Regions from separate parts of the Homo sapiens genome. Here region 1 is linked to region 2. The links are contacts of gene promoters, found by promoter capture Hi-C in human tissues and cell types (Jung and others, 2019). All regions are on one chromosome and are shown on one strand. The core of a region is centred on a gene start or on the middle of the fragment in contact, and the rest is flanking DNA. Distances in the headings are between cores, read along the strand shown.

Region 1 (2,700 bases), core at 26-2,525, 270 kb after region 2:
TACACTGTTCACTTTCAGGTTCTAGGGGCCACCAACAAAAGTGATTCTACTTTCCGGCCGGGCGCGGTGGCTCACGCCTGTAATCCCAGCACTTTGGGAGGCCGAAGCGGGCAGATCACGAGGTCAGGAGATCGAGACCATCCTGGCTAACACGGTGAAACCCCATCTCTGCTAAAAATACAAAAAATTAGCCAGGCATGGTGGCAGGCGCCTGTAGTCCCAGCTATTCGAGAGGCTGAAGCAGGAGAATGGTGTGAATCCAGGAGGTGGAGTTCGCAGTGAGCCGAGATAGTGCCAGTGCACTCCAGCCTGGGCGACGGTGCGAGACTGTCTTTAAAAAAAAAAAAAAAGTGATTCTACTTTCTATCTTTCACTGGGGTTGGGGGCAGCGGCGGTGGGAGCTGAACCACCACCATAGCCCAGCCAGACTGTTAGTCCTTCATGAAGCTTTGGGACACTGCTGGGAAGAAGCTCTTGGCTAGTTTCACAGCTCTGGCAGCACAGACCCCTCTAGACCAGCTGAGAGGCCCACACAGCCTGGGCAGAGGCAGATACCTGACAGGTGGGGAGCTCAGCCCAACTCACTACCCAGCAGCTGGGCACATGGCCTTCCCCTTGGGTCACAGGCTCCTGAGTATATGGGAGCTCAGGCCCAAGAGGCTCCAGGAACCCCAGCCAGGCAGGTGCACCTGTCAGAAGATGCTGCCAGAGCCAGGCCTACCACAGTGCCTACCCTCCTACCCAAAAGACTCCCTGGCCAGGAACCTGTTTTCACTTCCTCTGAAACCGTCCCCTTGACCTGCTTTCTTCTGCAGAGGCACACGCTGCCCCACTTTGCCCTGTCTCTTCCCTGGGTGAGACTGGTGCTCCTGGTGCAGACTGAGGAGACTGTGGCTACCCCCAGGCAGGGAGTTTGCATGCTTTGGTACCCAATACACCCACAACACACCTGCATAGAAAGAACACGCTCCTGGAGCAAGATCAACCAGTGAAGCTCCCCCACCTAGGAGGCAGGGAGCCACAAGACAGCCTGACCTGCAGGCTTATGGGGAGTTAGGAAGGGAACTCACAGGGCAAGCACAGCAGCACCCAGTACATGGAGCCACAGGCAAAGGCAGTGAGTGCTTGAACAGCCACGGCAGTTCCGAGAGGCTGTGCAGGGGGAATAAGAAGGCCCAGGCACAGATCACCACCCTCTGCCCCGATCAACCTCTCCAGCCCCTCTCCTCAGTGATACATCCCAGAATCAGAACCAAGGGCAGCAGCCTGCTGCCACCTCCCCTTAGCCCCACTATCTTTCTGCTGCAGCTGAGGCTTGGTCTGAGTCAGCAACAGCCCCAGGGAAGGTGGGGAGGGTTCTGGCCATGGCACAGGGAAGACGGCCCAGAATCACTTGCCTGGCCAGGCTGAAACGGTGGCTGCCTCAGCTCCCAGGCACCCAGTCTTTGACCCCAGCCCATTCCATGACCACTGGCTCCTTCTCTGTCTTCTGGGTGGAAATCTGGGTCAGGGAGGAAGGAAAGGAATGAAAAACCAAACGGTGGTTCTCCAGGGGACTGGCCCAGGAGTAACTGGAGGGCACACTCAGGTACCCAGTGACCAACCACTATAGGGCTGGGTCTCTGCCCCTACCTGCCGTCCTGCAGATTTGAAACAGGGCCACTGTCCACCCACCTAGTGGCCCCTCTGCCTATGACCTCCCTGCCCCCCAACCTGTGATTTCACACTTCAGGGAAGGAAGAGGAAAGGGTGGAAGAGGAAGACAGTCCTGCCAGCATGTGTCCAGCAGAGGGGACACTAGGAGAACCTAACTGAACACAAGGCCAGGGTACTGCCTCTGTCCACTCGCGCTTAACTTGCCCGCTCTGTGATGGAGTGCTTGGATACAGGCTGCTCACAAATGCTGGGCTGCTTCTTTGACTTGCCATGGAACTTTCCAGACAACTGCCCCAGGGAGATGGTGTGTGTGATGTGTGAGGGGTGCTCACACTGCAACCAGGCCCTTGTCTGGGCTTTGGTACCTCTCCCGCTCCCCACTGCTCACCGGCCGCTCGGCTCTGAGGCCCGTGAGGACACTCTCCATCATGCTCTTCACATAACACAGACTCCCAGGTTCACACACACTGTGTTCCTGCATCAAACCGTTTCTTCCCCAAATGCCAATGACCTTCCCTTGGGCAGAACGGCCCCGCACACAAAGGGAATGTGTTGTGTTATGAAGAGGCACAGGCCCCGACCCTGGTCACCCAAAGGGGTCCCAGAAACCGCTCTGTAACAAGATAAGGTGGAGCGCTACTGCTCCCACTTTCCTGCGCTCCCAGTCCGTAGGTCCAGGACCTCCTCGGTGGTGTTGATGGAAATGATGGGAGTCACAGCAGGGGCTTTCCAATGCTTTTCATGGAGACCAGCAGTAAGAAATGCACTTTACGTCACAGCCCAGCACACGTGTATGTCATGTGTGCACATGTGTTGTGCATGTGTGTACATGTGTAGAGCGACAGCAGCCAATCAGAGCTAACTCTATTCTGCGATGGACGCACTGACAACTCCTGTTCTGTTGTGTTTTGAAGAACTAACTGGTGCATGGCGGCTCTGGCCTGTGATCCTAGCACTTTGGGAGGCCAGGAGTTTTTGACTGGTTTTGGCAACACAGCCAGACCTGGTCTCTACAAAAAATATTTTTCTGCCGGGCAGATCACC
Region 2 (2,700 bases), core at 183-2,682:
GGTGACTTCTTTTGCTCAAGGGTTCACAAGGGCAGCAGACTGATCTGCACAAGAGGGACTGAGCCTGGCTGCGGCCGCACCTGATGCCTGTGCACACCTGTCCCTGGTGGTCTCTCCTGTGGTGACTTCTTTTGCTCAAGGGTTCACAAGGGCAGCAGACTGATCTGCACAAGAGGGACTGAGCCTGGCTGCGGCCGCACCTGATGCCTGTGCACACCTGTCCCTGGTGCAGGCCCTTCCCCCGCAGCCCCGTGACCTTGTCCTGTGAGGCTCACGGTGCCTGCTCCTTCTCAGAGTCCTCATTTCTCCCTTTAACGCACGCCCTGTCAGCGCCTCCGTCTAGCCCGTGTCCTCCAGACCTTCGAGGTCAGGGGCCTCAATTCCTGGCACAGCCCCTCCACTCCAGGCCTCCCAGAAACAGACTAGAGCATCAGGATGTGCGCCGCCTGGGGTCCCACAGAGTGGTGCCCCCTTTTAGTGTCTTCTAGGCCCCTTAGTGACAGACTACAGAAAATACCTCTCAGGTCACAGGTCACCCCTCTTTGGTGAAGAGTCCATAGAATTCTCTGCTGCGCTTTGCAAGCACTTTCTCTTCTGCACGTTTGGAACCTACCCCGGCCTGTCGTGTCTTTCTCCTGGCCTCCTCGCGAGCCGAACCTACTGTCCGGTCCCGGGACCCCCTGCCCAGGGTCAGAGGGGCGCCTACCTAGCTCACGGTCTTGGGCCGGAGGGAATGGAGGAGGGAGCGGGGTCGACCGCTCAGCTGTCCGCCCAGTTTCGGAGGCGGCCACGCGAGGATCAACTGTGCAACGGGTGGGGCCGCGGCTGACCGTGGTGGTCGCGGGGGCTGAGGGCCAGAGGCTGCGGGGGGGGGGCGGCGGGATGAGCTAGGCGTCGGCGGTTGAGTCGGGCGCGGAGTCGGGGGCAGGGGGAGCGGGCGTGGAGGGTGCGCACGAGGTCGAGGCGAGTCCGCGGGGGAGGCGGGCAGAGCCTGAGCTCAGGTCTTTCTGCGTCTGGCGGAACGGGCCTGGGAGGGAGGTTTTGCCAGATACCAGGTGGACTAGGGTGAGCGCCCGAGGGCCGGGACGCACGCACGGGCCGGGTAGGATGGCGCTGGCGTCGATGCCCGCGCGCTTCAGGGCCTGGTCTGGCCGCCCCTCCATCCTTGTCGGTTTCTCGGGTCGCGGACCCCGCGCGGCGCCGGGCGATGCTGGCCTGCCCGTGGCCACCACCTCGCTTCATTCCCGTCTCTTTGGGCCGCCGCATTCGTCCACGTGCCCGTCTCTCCCTGCGCAAAATTCCAAGATGAGCAAATACTGGGCTCACGGTGGAGCGCCGCGGGGGCCCCCCTGAGCCGGGGCGGGTCGGGGGCGGGACCAGGGTCCGGCCGGGGCGTGCCCGAGGGGAGGGACTCCCCGGCTTGCGACCCGGCGTTGTCCGCGGTGCTCAGCGCCCGCCCGGGCGCGCCATGGGGAACCGCAGCACCGCGGACGCGGACGGGCTGCTGGCTGGGCGCGGGCCGGCCGCGGGGGCATCTGCGGGGGCATCTGCGGGGCTGGCTGGGCAGGGCGCGGCGGCGCTGGTGGGGGGCGTGCTGCTCATCGGCGCGGTGCTCGCGGGGAACTCGCTCGTGTGCGTGAGCGTGGCCACCGAGCGCGCCCTGCAGACGCCCACCAACTCCTTCATCGTGAGCCTGGCGGCCGCCGACCTCCTCCTCGCTCTCCTGGTGCTGCCGCTCTTCGTCTACTCCGAGGTGAGCCGCGTCCGGCCGCACGAGCATCCTCACCTGCTCCTCGGTTCCCCGTCCCTGTCCCTACGGAGGACCCGGCGCGACCCGGCCCCTTTCTGGTGCGGAGCTTCCAGCTGGGGCGGCGGCAGGGGCGCTGCGCCTTGTCCCTCGGCGATACACCCACCGCCGCCACCTCGCGACCTTCCACCCGCTGCGCTGTCTGTCCCCCGACCCTCGTTCCTCTTCTCCTTCCCCGTCTGTCTTGGCGTCTGTTATCCAGGAGATGCCCGTCCTTCTATCCAGGGACCCCGGAAACAGGCGACTTTGTCAAGCCCAGTCCCCTCCGTAGCTGGATTTCACCTCCAGGGCAGCCAGCTGGACAGACAGGCAGATGCAGGCTCAGCCCCCTGGCTGCCGTGGGACACACACACACACACACTGCCACAGCCACTGCCCACCACACACACCTAGTGCAGATGCTGGCACACCCCCAGAAGGAGGCTCACAGCTCGCAGGGGAGACCTGGGCTGGACAAAACCCAGGGGAGGGGAGGGTGTGTGGGGACCAGGCCCCTGCTGAGAACCCTGGGGGGAAGCCTGAGGGGGAATTGGGGGATGGAGCCCACACTCCACACCAGGTCTGGCCCTCGAGTGGGTCGGCCTTGGTGCCAGCCCCTCTGCGGCCAGAGAAAAGCAGCTTAGGGCTGAGCTGGAGACGCGGTGTCCCCGACTGTGGGGGAGGGGGACTCGAGGTTTCCCCTTGATGGACACAGTGAATCCAGGCGGCTGGGGCAGAGACCAGCAGCACGGGACACGCGTGACCTGTGCTCCTTTCGAGCCGCAGACGTCACAGTGACGACGTTTAAGCTCCTAATCTCCCCAAATCGGCGGGAAGGATTAGAGGGGCTGCCTGCTCCTTTGCCCTTGGAGAGAGTCACTCCACGTGGAGTCCTACGCTGGGCACTGGGCACG

What was found. The method cuts DNA at HindIII sites, captures the fragments that hold promoters and counts their contacts. A contact is called where the count stands out against the background at its distance.
Region 1: a contact is called between a fragment that was not itself captured here and the fragment with the promoter of DRD4 in region 2, in 1 of the 25 tissues and cell types used here (lymphoblastoid cells).

Annotation. Positions count from the first base shown.
Region 1 is chr11:907,145-909,844 of GRCh38, forward strand. The region is part of intron 1 of CHID1 (chitinase domain containing 1); the gene reads right to left. Among named protein-coding and RNA genes, the nearest start is that of CHID1, 2.3 kb to the right of the region's middle. The HindIII fragment of the contact is 5,018 bases long and covers 1-2,700 here.
Region 2 is chr11:635,837-638,536 of GRCh38, forward strand. It overlaps DRD4 (dopamine receptor D4), which reads left to right and starts at 1,433. Exons shown (of 4, transcript NM_000797.4): 1 at 1,433-1,753. The coding sequence starts at 1,469. RefSeq lists enhancers at 1-250, 251-784, 1,320-1,853, 1,854-2,388, 2,389-2,700. The HindIII fragment of the contact is 8,949 bases long and covers 1-1,500 here.